3 separate regions of the Homo sapiens genome follow, and all the other regions are linked to region 2. Evidence: promoter capture Hi-C in 16 types of primary human blood cells and fetal thymus (Javierre and others, 2016). All regions are on one chromosome and are shown on one strand. The core of a region is centred on a gene start or on the middle of the fragment in contact, and the rest is flanking DNA. Distances in the headings are between cores, read along the strand shown.

Region 1 (4,125 bases), core at 967-3,466, 950 kb before region 2:
AACACCACCTCTACTACAAATACAAAAAAATTAGCCAGGCGTGATGGCGGGTGCCTGTAATCCCAGCTACTTGGGAGGCTGAGGCAGGAGACTCACTTGAACCCGGGGGGGCAAAGGTTGCAGTGAGCCAAGATCATGCCACTGCACTCCAGCCTAGTTGACAGGGTGAGACTCCATGTCAAAAAAAAAAAAAAAGACTGCCTATTTCGGGAACACTCCTTGCTTGATCCAATCTGTTTATATTATCTATATCTTTACAATACATAATATGATATATATAACATAATATAATACATAATAGGCAGAATATTCCCCCAAACTCTGTTATTCCATACTCCATAAAAATGGTGGTTGCTGATGAATAAAGATGCTGATGGAAAAAAACGGTAATATCTAATGCACTTATATGTGTCAATTAGGAATCTGTGATAGGGAAACATAGCCAAAGGGCTAAAAATATCTTTCCCACACATTTTTCAAAATGTGCTCCAACATAACTTATCCTACATAATTTTTATTGATAATATCAAACCCTAAACATAAATTTCACTGAACTTGTCTAAAATGCGTAAGATTTCCTATGCCTTACCTATAGCTGACCTGGCTGATCAGAGTGGAAGCTTACTGAGAGAGCCTTGGTATTCCCCACAGCACTTAATGCATATGGGTACTCAGCTTGTCAAGCAAATAGGGAGAGACGACCAGATACTTTTCATGAGTGGAAACTACACTAGGAGAATGGTAAACCGGGTACCAGTGCCAGTCTTGACTCAGCCACTCTCTGGGGACCTCAAGAAAGACACTTCCCTCTCCAAGCATCAGCCTCCTCCTCTGCTAGAGTGAGGTGGACTACCTGACCTTCTGGTCCTGCAGTTAGATGGCTATAATTATTGCATGCTTAATTTATGCCAGGCACTGTGCTAAAAACGTAAATTACTTCATTAAATCCACATGATGACTTTATTCAATGTTTAATGAGTGGTTTCTACAAGCCAGGCACTGTGCTAGGTATTAGGATTTAAGGGTGAACAGATCAACTATGATACATTCCTTTACAGATGCTATCTTTACAGACAAGGATTAACAGACTCAGATTTATTAACTTGCCTAAGACATTCAGTTAGTAAGTGGGAGGCTAGCATTGAAACCACTCAAGACTATAAAGCCTGTCCTCTCCATCACTGTCCCATGCTGCTACCCAATGCTCTATGATTTTATGAAAACATGTCTTTTCTAAATATTTCATCACCATAGTAACCATATCATTGCACAGGAATATCACCTATTACTAAATTAGCACTGGTAGTGCAAGCATTCCCAGTCTTCTCTCAGCCTTCCCTTACCTGTGGGAACAATTCCAAGGCATTAACTCTGCTTAACATTGCCAACACAAATGCCGCTGTCTTTCCTGTTCCAGACTGGCTCTGTGCTATGAGGTTCTGGGGTCTGTAGAAAAGAGAAGACCACTGGGCATAAACTGAATACAAGAGAGTGGGCATAAACTGAAAATAAGAAACTAAACATAACCAAGTAGAATACCACTACCCTGGAAACTCACGGATGTGCCAGCATCATAGGGAGAGCCATCTCTTGGATTTTAGATGGCCTATTAAATCCCATTGCATAGATTCCTTTTAGTAACTCTTCCTTTCTGTCAAAAAAAAAAATCAAACACTTACAGATTATAGTTGGTCAGTAGCATCAGAAATACATACCTGAAAGGTGCATTTCTAAATTAAGTCACTTTGCAGCTGAGCTTTAAAACTAGTATTTGGAGATAGATCATTCATACCTCAACTTCCAAACATAAACAATCATGCCTGTAGAGCTGGACCACTAAAATAATAAGCTACGCCATAAGCCTAGGCGAAGGACAGTGGTAAAGGCCTTAAGTCAAACCTTCTGTTGAACAAAGCAAAAATGGAAAAACTCATCGCATAAAAAGAATATATCTGCTTGCCAAGAGAGTTATATTTTCTGCCTAAGCAGAAAACTAAGTGACATTTACTGTTTTGTTCCTTTTCACGAACGATATTGACATTTTTAACAGTAATTTTCAGAGAAGACAAATTTTTATTTAGGTGATTCTTATATTAGTTCTTTCTAGGAGTAGAAGACACAATATTACTCCATCCTTCTGAGGCAATATTTTAAAATGCAGCTTTCCTGAGGGTCTTAAGAAAAATGCCAGAATGAGGATAAATCAAGTGGACTACAACACTTCAACTTTTTTTTTTTTGAGACGGAGTCTTGCTCTGTCGCCCAGGCTGGAGTGCAGTGGCGCGACCTCAGCTCACTGCAAGCTCCACCTCCCGGGTTCACGCCATTCTCCTGCCTCAGCCTCCCGAGTAGCTAGGACTACAGGCGCCCGCCACCACACCTGGCTAATTTTTTGTATTTTTAGTAGAGACGGGGTTTCACTGTGTTAGCCAGGATGGTCTCGATCTCCTGACCTCGTGATCCGCCCCCCTTGGCCTCCCAAAGTGCTGGGATTACAGGCGTGAGCCACCGCGCCCGGCCAACACTTCAACTTTTAATGACATGCACATTTGTGTGTGCTTAATTGGTAGAGGACTGGTAGCCCATCTTAAATCATGGGTAGGCTTCTTCTACCATTTAGAAAATGTCTGGGAACTAGGATTTTGGATTTTTACCCTTTACATAAGTAGGTTTCAGTGCTTTTCTCGTTCTGTAAAAATACATTTTTTAGCGTCAAATGATAAATCCCTAGGGAATGCAAACCCATTTGGGAAAGTTATTCAGTTTAATATCATTTGAAACAAAATATAATCAGGAAAGTAAAAGTTTGTGACTTATCTATAGTGGGTGAAGGAGGATGTCTGGGTCATCAGAATCTGGGTTCTGATATGGAGAGGGGCAATCTGGCTGTGCCTAGCTTAGCTATCTATCCCCCTGAGCACTGCAGGATGAAAATATCTTACTATCAAAAATGTTCTCAATTTGCCAGGCAACTTGAGTATCCTAATGTTCTTCTTTAGAATATCCTTTTTTTTTTTTTTTTTGAGACGGAGTCTCACTCTGTCACCCAGGCTTGGAGTGCAATGGTGTCTCGGCTCACTGCAACCTCTGCCTCCTGGGTTCAGGCGATTCTCCTACCTCAGCCTCCCGAATAGCTGGGATTACAGGTGCGCGCCACCATGCCCGGCTACTTTTTGTATTTTTAGTGGAGAGGGGGTTTTCCCATGTCGGCCAGGCTGGTCTCAAGCTCCTGACCCTCGGGCGATCTGCCCTCCTCAGCTCCCAAGTGTTGGGATTATAGGAATGAGCCACTGTGCCTGGCCTGAGCTATATTTTGATTGCATGGAAAATGTACAAATCTCACTTTAATACTGAATATTAAAAATTAACTGGGCGTGGTGGTGCATGCCTGTAGTCCCAGCTACTCGGGAGGCTGAGGCAGGAGAATCGCTTGAACCTGTAAGGTAGAGCAGTGAGCCGAGATCGTATCACTGCACTCCAGCCTGGGGGACAGAGTGAGACTCTGTCTCAAATAACAAAAAAAAATATTGAATATCAGAAAACAAAGAGGAGATCCTGATGGTTTTTACTATAAGCAGATGCGTTTGTTCTGTGGTTTTCAGCATTTTTCCCATATTAAAAGAGTAAAAATACTCACAGCCGCAGCTCTTCAAATGTCTTTACTGAGTAAAGTGGAGAGCTGGGATCCTTCTGTAAAACTTCCACACGGTGACTGGATTCTACTAAGGATTGATGGATTAACTTGTTTAAGAGTGAATTAGCTGCCAAATCCACTAGAAAAGCAAAAATAAAAAAGAGGACATCAAGCTTCCTGAATGACATCAAATAAGTTGCTCTTTCTCTTTCAGTGGTTGTATACCAAGCAATTGCACCTACGCTCATTTTTCCTCTAAAAGAGGGTTCCAGAAAGAATGATATAGCACTGAGGATTCGTTCTTTATGAGGATTCAGTTTCTTACGCTCTGTTACTTCACCATCCTCTAACTTCAAAGTAGCCTAAGTCCATCTCCATGAGACCAAATCCTTGACAGATGGAAGTTCTGAACCCAATCCCTGCATATTCCATTTCAACTTCCTTTAAATAAATACACCTTACTCCTAATTTAGTGTGTCTCCTGATAGTCA
Region 2 (3,955 bases), core at 1,403-3,902:
CATTTATTTTGAGCTGACAGAGCTATATCCGTTAATAAGGGTGGATACCCAGACTAGATATGCTAAAGCTATAAGGAGTTCTATTAGATGCTTGATCAAACTCCCTTTGGCTGGAACTGATCAGAAATTTTTAAATCAGGAAAAGGAGATATGTTTATCCATGTTCCAAGACTTTAATATTTTGAGTTAATGTGTGTGAATACGATAGTCAATACTTCTTAACATAGAAAAAGTTTGATGGTGTCAAATTTTAGGCATGTTGACACTACTGATATTATACAGATGTAATTTGAGCAATTACAAAGAGGTGTCAACAACTTAAATACCAAAATATCTTTATACCAAATCTTACCAAGTCTTGTGGGGTGTTTCCTGCATTCATCCCTTCTCATTCCACTCCTTTTTTTTTTCCAGAGATGGGGTCTCACTCTATTGCCCAGGCTAGAGTGCAGTAGTATGATCATAGTTCACTGCAGCCTACAATTCGTGGGCTCAAGCACTTCAATCATCCTTTTTCAAGGCTGTTCTTCTCTATTTCTTACCACTAACAAAGTTTCGATGCTATACTCCATGCTTAAATTATTATAATTATATTCTAATTTATCCCCAGGATCCAATCACTCCCTATCCTTCAAAACCTTTGAAGCAATTCATCTAAAGAAAACACTGGTTGATCATGACATTCACCTGTAAATATTAAACAAAGTCAATCCCTTCTCCAAAATTTCCTAAGGTACTCTACCATCCCTATTTTCCATAATCCTGTCAGCAACCATTCTCCTACTAAGCTTTCCACTCCAATCGATCTAATCTACCCTTAGAATCCTGAACCTTGCTTACTTCTTACTCTCCTCATTCTCCTTAATAGGAGAATCATTCCCTTCCCTTCTCCGATCAAATTCTTCATTACACTTTCCTGGGTCACATCAACCCAACGTCATAGCTTCTTGATTGAGCATTATATTCTTAGAACTTAGATAGAGATACCACCTAGACTCTTAAAATCCTTTTTGGAAATAGGCAGGGTAGGAATAAATCAATGAATATACATACATATGTGCAAACATAAATAAAATGAATATAGTATATTGCATTACTTTAACATTTAAACACATCTCATTTCTCTTCTGAGATCAAGTACACTGAGGGAACATATCTCATCCTTTTTTCATCCATGTTCAGCACCTTGTCTACACATACAGAAGACATTTTGTGCCTTTCATAAATACTTCATGAGTGTCTATATTGATTAGGCAGTATTTAAGATAAAAGTGGGAATGTGATGATAAATGACATTTGTTCTCTACGCTCAAGGAGCTCACACTGCATCAGGAAAAGATATATAAACAATCTACTATAACACAATGTGGTAAGTGCCAAGTTAAATTTGAACAAATAGCTAAGGGGCACAGTTTGGTGAAAGACTATCAGAAACCATGGAATTTCTAGTTAGACTTTCTCAGATTATCAGAGTTCATCTCTTTCTCCTTTATTCTATTACTCCATTTTGCCTGAATCCTCATTACAAAATTTATCATAAACCTTAAGCAACCAATTAATGTTACTTGAAGTATGCCAACTATCATCCATACTAAGTTGCAGTGTCTGGAAGATGTAGATAGTGCTTATGTCTTGGGCATAACAAGCAATCAAGAGTCTGAAGTAAACTGATATACAGATATATATCTATATAACCTGTTCCATGTAGATTATGCTCTATATATTATAGTAGGTGAGTAATAAATATTTGATTATGCCAACTAAAGCTGCAGTCAAGTTTTGGCAAATACTTGTTCTATAATCCTAATGCAAGAGCATAAACTATTTATGGCAGAATAGAAACAGCATCCTCGGACTGTTCATCTTTAAGCACCCAGGATTAGAGAAGGCTAATAAAAAGGGTGGTGGGGAACCCCACCATATTTGGATCAAACTGACACTCACATATGCTGGGATTTCCGAACTACCTGGTGAGGCAGGTTCCACCCATGCCCCAACTGGTACTATAGCCTCGTTCCTCTCAGCCAGCACTGCCAACACGTCCTTGCTCTTCAGGGGGTTTAAAGCCAGGGGCAACCTTGAGGTATTTCGAGGTTTCTTTCGGGCCATACTTCCCAGCATCTGTGACTCCTGATTAGGAGAAAGAAAAAGCTTAAAATCTTCAAATGACTGCATTAAAAGTTCAACCTCCTAACACATGAGCCACAGGCCCGTGAAAAGGAGAGAAGCCCTGGAGGCAGAAGCCTGGCATGAAGTGGAAACACACGGATTCTAGAGAAAAAGGAAGAAAAGAAGGGAAGAGAAATGGGAAGAAATAAAGAGGCAAAGAAAGGTTTTTAAGTTGCCTTCTAGAAGAAATGGCGATGAGAGGGAAGAGAAAGGATGGGAATGAGAGAACGAAGACTGTCCTCAGCTGTGGGCGCAGCGAGGCGGGAAGGGAGGAATGACAGCTGCAACCCGGAGAAAGAGGGAGGGGCGGGGACCTGTGTCTGCAGCCGAGAGTCCCAATAATCGGTATAGGTTATGGGAAGACGCGCTGAACGGCTGGGAGCCTCGGGCCAGATAAAAGCCTGCTTCTGAGGCCCCGAGGCCTGCTCCGGCTGAGATGGCACTGGCCAGGAATCGGCCCGCAGCTCGCCACAGACTCAGTCTACTCGGAGTACTAAGGTAACCGCCTCAAGTAGACCGCCACTTTGCGGTGGGCTGCTCCGTCCCGCCCATCCGTAGCCTTATGCCCGCCCTTTCCGGAGCCCGCGTCCCCTCCCGGAGCTGGGAAGGCGTGAGAGGTGGAGTTTCGAGCGCCCGAGGTATCGTCATTTCCTCTTCCTGTCCGGCTGAGGGGGCGGGGACGTGTGGGTAAGCGGAGTCGCTGGGTAATGCGCCATGTGAGGCGCGGTGGGACTGTCGTTCCTGGACCAACGCCGAGACTTCCTAAATCCCTCCGGAAAGGGATGCGTTGGGCCTGTGATCTGGCGACTAGGAGGGTCAGGAGTCCCAGTAGAGGGAATCACGGGAAAAGAATGAAAGAGGGAGGCGAGCCTGGCACGGCTTCCTGGAGAAACAAACTAAGCTAACAAATTTTTCGGATCCTTTGTGCAGCTAATTTTACAGTACTGTTTCATACATCTTATTATATTTGGACATCACGGCCTGTTGAGTGGTCTCCCTCTCTGCTGCAAGCTCTGCTGTAATCCAGAGACACTCAATTATCTCTGTAGGATAATTTATTCATTCGATTAACATACATTACTACTAACTTTTTATAAACCAGTACTGTTCCAAGCACCGGAGATACATAGCTATGAACGAAACAAATATCCCTGCTCAGGGAATTCACAATAGAGTGAGGGGAAATAAGCGAATAAACAATGAGTAAGTAAATGTGTGTGATGTGGAGTAAAAGCAAAGAAAGCGGATAGGGAGTGTGGTGGGCAGGGTGGGGATTGGAGGGATGAAATATTAGAACGTCCAGAGAAGCTGCACTGAGATACTTTTCAGCAAAGACTTAAATGAGTTAATGGAAGAAGCCACTGTGCTCTTCAACGGAGGCTTTATAAACATGTTCCAGATATAACAGCAAGTATAAACGCCCCAAGGTGGAAGCATTGCCTGGTTGAGAAAAAGTCAGGAGGATAGTGTGACTGGAGCAGAGGGAGAGTGGAAGAATGCTGAGACAGTAGGTCAAGCAGGCAATCCGATCAAACATCGTAAGCCACCATAGGTGTTGAGATGGGGAGCCACTGGAGCAAGGTTTGGAGCAAAGGAACACCATAATGTGACAAAATTAAAAAAATAATAATTCCGAATGCTGTAGTGAGAATAGACTGTAAAGAAGACCAATTAGGTGGCTATTGCAATAATTCAGTTAAGGGATTGTGATGTCTTGGATCAAGGAGGTAGTGGTGGAGATGATGATAAGTGGTTGGATTCTGTATCTATTTGGGAGGCAAAACTT
Region 3 (3,640 bases), core at 619-3,118, 930 kb before region 2:
TTTCAAACTCCCAATCTCAAGTGATCCGCCCGCCTCCGCCTCCCAAAGTGCTTGGGATTACAGGTGTGAGCCACCGCGCCCGGCCCAGTTTGGCATTTTGAATCAGAATTTAAACTGTACCACAACTTCTAAGTCATAATCCACTTCCAGGAATTTATTCCAAGGACATAAATTGGACAAGAATGCAAACATGTATACATACAAGTGACCACTACCATACCATTTTATGATTATGAAGAGACTGGAAACAAATGTACATTAGTAGGGGACTGGTTAAATAATATATGATACAATACAGCCATAGCAACAAACGCCACGCATCCATTAAAAATGGTAATGCGTATCGACACTGACAGAGAAATGTGTTCCCAATTTATTACTGACTCAATAATGTATAATCTGCTTAACTGACGTTCTTTTAAATTAACATACTTTATTATATTTGTAACATGCAATTATTTAAAACACATTTTATAAGGAAATCACATAAATATAAGGTATATATTATGAATATATCTGAAGTAAACCTAAATGTGAACAGTGTTTGATGGTTATCTGTGACTGATGAAATTTCGAGTATTTTCTTTCTTCTTTACACGTACTAAATGTTGCTCGGATTGCTAAAAACATGTACATACTATGTTTGCATTCTTGTCCGATTTATGTCCTTGGAATAAACTCCTGGAATTGGATTATGACTTAGAAGTTATGGTACTACTTGAATTCTGATTTATGTTTTTCTTTTCTCTTTTTTTTTTTTTTTTTTGAGACAAGAGTCTTGCTCGGTCGCCCAGGCTGGAGTGCAGTGGCGCGATCTCGGCTCACTGCAACCTCTCCCTCCCGGGTTCAAGAGATTCTCCTGTCTCGGCCTCCCGAGGAGCTGGGACTACAGGCGCCCGCCACCAAGCCCGGCCAATTTTTGTATTTTTAGTAGAGACGGGGTTTCACCGTATTGGTCGGGCTGGTCTCGAACTCCTGACCTCACGTGATCCGCCCACCTCGGCCTCCCAAAGTGCTGGGGTAACAGGCGTGAGCCACCGCGCCCGGCCTGAATTCTGATTTATAATGCCAAACTGCCCTCTAGAAAAACAGATTATCCCCAGCACACAGGCCATAAAGGTGCTTGCTTTCATTTCTTCACTCTCTCAGCAGCATGGGGTACTGAAAAATCTTACCAATCTAAAAAGATATCTTAATGTTTTTCTTTGCCTGCTTAGTGAGATTGTATACTGTTTAGAATAAAAAAGATTTATTTCCATTTCGGGGTGGACAAACACCTTGGACGGTTCCATGCTGCAGTCCACAAAAGGTGCAGCTAGAAGGCGACAAGACACGCTCCGCCTTTCAACGGCAAAGCTCGCAGTCGCCCCGCCTGGCCGTGGGCGTGGCTTGGACCCAGGTCGCTAGCGGCCTTCGGGACTCCCCTCCAGCCCTGGGGCCGTCCCCGGCCTCCGCCTGGTCCCAGGGGCGCGGCCCAGGAGCTCAGAAAGGCCACCGGGGCAAAGACCGCGGCGGCGGCCAGCGCACACCGTGACCTCCAGGGGCTGCGGCCCGCCGCGCACATCGCCTGTAGCTCACGCTGCCCCGGCCGCCTCCCTCAGGAACGCAGACGTTGGGGACGGCTCGCCAGGCAGGACCTGGAATCCACGGAGGGAAGCTGCCACTCTGCACCGTCCCGACGGTGGGAAAAGGAGCGAGGGCTCCCGCCGCAGTGGGCCGGCAGCCACCAGGTCCCCGCGTCCCTCCGCTTCCGGCCTTCGCCCGGCTTACCCGCGTCGCGGAAGTCCGCTCTCTGCACCGCGTCCTGCCAGTCGCCAGCAGAGCACCGCAGATTCTGTTAGCTTTCGCGTAACTTGCGCAGGCGCACTGCCGGCCCACGCGCCGAGCCTGCGGTTAACCGCCGACCGCTGAGGTTTAAATCCGGAGAGCGAACCGGCACCCTTGGCCCGGTCCGCCCTCCCTCTTATTGGTCCTGAGGGTAAACGTCCTCCAAGTCTGTATCCTGATTGGCGCACATTTTGTCTGGGCCTTCTCCGCCGGCGGGAGCATGCCCGGGATTTCCAATGTGGCCTTAAAAATATCCGAGCCCGCCTAGCTGAGGCGCGCAGGCAGCAGCCGTTGCTGCGACGCCTCTGGTGTACTAAATCTGGAGGGGAGGTTGGGCCCTCGAAGAGAAGGAGAAGACCCTCAAACCTTGGCTAACGGCGACATAGCTGGCTTTTTGGAGAGGCCGCCTAACGGTCTGCCACTTCATTGGAATCAGCCTCCGCCCTTCTCAACTGGCTGCTGCGGGGCCAGTGGTGCCGGGAGACGAGGGCGGGCGCTCAGGGACGGTTCGAACAGTCTGGGGTGAGTCCGCCTGTGCGCTCTAGACGTTTCCTTGGGGCCTGAGAGAGCGGCTGTATGAAACCCTGGCGCACTGAGCTCTTCCTTTCCTCTGCATGGTGTGCAGGGCCCTGGCGTGACCCGTGGCTGCGTCTCCACAGCTCCTCCCACGTTACTCTAACTGTGCTCCAGCCACCGACTGCCTTGCTCCGACATGCACTTGTTTTCTTTTGGAATGTGCCTGTCTCCTTCACATGGTGTTACTCTCAACTTTTTTTTTTTTTTTTTTTTGAGACGGAGTTTCCCTCTTGTTGCCCAGTTGCCCAGGCTGGAGAGTAGTGGCGCGATCTCAGCTCTCTGTAACCTCTGCCTCCCAGGTTCAAGCGATTCTCCTGCCTCAGCCTCCCGAGCAGCTGGGATTACGGGCGAGCACCACCATGCCCGGCTAATTTTGTATTTTTAGTAGAGATGGGGTTTCACCATGTTAGTCAGGTGATTCTACCCCCTCGGCCTCCCAAAGCTCTGGGATTACAGTTGTGAGCCTCTGTGCCCAGCCACTAATTTTTTTTTTAAACCCGATGTTTTAACTCTTTTTGCATCTGTACCTGTAAAAAAAAAAAAAAAAAAAAAAAAAAAAATCTAGTGCTTGGGGATTGCTGAGGATGAGATCTGTAAAAGCAAGAGGAGAGGCCCTCAGGGTTCAATATCCTAGTCAATACCAAGCAAACCTATCTCAACTGGTCTTGAGTCCTGAGCATTGCATTTTCCACCTTAAACAAATAGGTGCTAGTTGTCAAGTTCATCTTACACCATTTCTTAAATCCAGGATTCAGTGGGAGGGGAGAAATGTTTAATCCTTTTCCTCCAAACACTTCGTATTATCTCTTACTCTCCCTCTTTGCCTCAGGGCCTTTGTGCTACCTCTAAGGCACTTTGAATTTGTGGGAGGAAGAAAATGGAAAGAACAAAGGAGGGAAGATGACAGAAGTAGGTTGTGGAGATTTGAGTGACTGCCCCTACATCTGCAATATCATAACACTCCTTTAGTGCAGCGGTCCCAACCTTTTTGGCACTAGAGACAGGTTTCATGGAAGACAATTTTTCCATGGCTCAGAGAGGGGGTATGGTTTTGGGATGATTCAAGCGCATTACATTTATTGTGCACTTTATTTCTATTATTATATTGTAACATATAATGAAATAATTATGCAACTCACTGTAATGTAGAATCAGTGGGAGCCCTGAGCTTGTTTTTCTGCAACTAGATGGTCCCATCTGGGGGTGATGGGAGACAGTGACAGATCATCAGGCATTA

What was found. Contacts are between HindIII fragments. The CHiCAGO score rates a contact against its expected background, and 5 or more counts as called.
Region 1: a fragment that was not itself captured here is called in contact with the fragment with the promoter of CCDC15 in region 2 in 1 of 17 cell types (naive CD8 T cells); the score reaches 5.4 in naive CD8 T cells.
Region 3: a contact is called between the fragment with the promoter of HYLS1 here and the fragment with the promoter of CCDC15 in region 2, in 8 of 17 cell types (activated CD4 T cells, total B cells, naive CD8 T cells and 5 more). The highest score is 12.9, in activated CD4 T cells.

What each region holds. Positions count from the first base shown.
Region 1 is chr11:125,905,722-125,909,846 of GRCh38, reverse strand. It overlaps DDX25 (DEAD-box helicase 25), which reads right to left. Exons shown (of 12, transcript NM_013264.5): 4 at 3,638-3,773; 5 at 1,559-1,651; 6 at 1,344-1,446. Among named protein-coding and RNA genes, the nearest start is that of DDX25, 3.3 kb to the right of the region's middle. The HindIII fragment of the contact is 3,187 bases long and covers 623-3,809 here.
Region 2 is chr11:124,952,899-124,956,853 of GRCh38, reverse strand. It overlaps CCDC15 (coiled-coil domain containing 15), which reads right to left and starts at 2,652. Exons shown (of 16, transcript NM_025004.3): 1 at 2,484-2,652; 2 at 1,945-2,130. The coding sequence starts at 2,121. CCDC15-DT (CCDC15 divergent transcript) reads left to right here and starts at 2,863. Exons shown (of 3, transcript XR_948134.3): 1 at 2,863-3,372. RefSeq lists an enhancer at 2,449-2,992. The HindIII fragment of the contact is 8,789 bases long and covers 2,154-3,955 here.
Region 3 is chr11:125,885,896-125,889,535 of GRCh38, reverse strand. HYLS1 (HYLS1 centriolar and ciliogenesis associated) reads right to left here and starts at 1,868. Exons shown (of 3, transcript NM_001134793.2): 1 at 1,771-1,868. RefSeq lists silencers at 1,291-1,680, 1,781-1,830, 1,921-1,970 and an enhancer at 2,111-2,160. The HindIII fragment of the contact is 13,277 bases long and covers 1-3,640 here.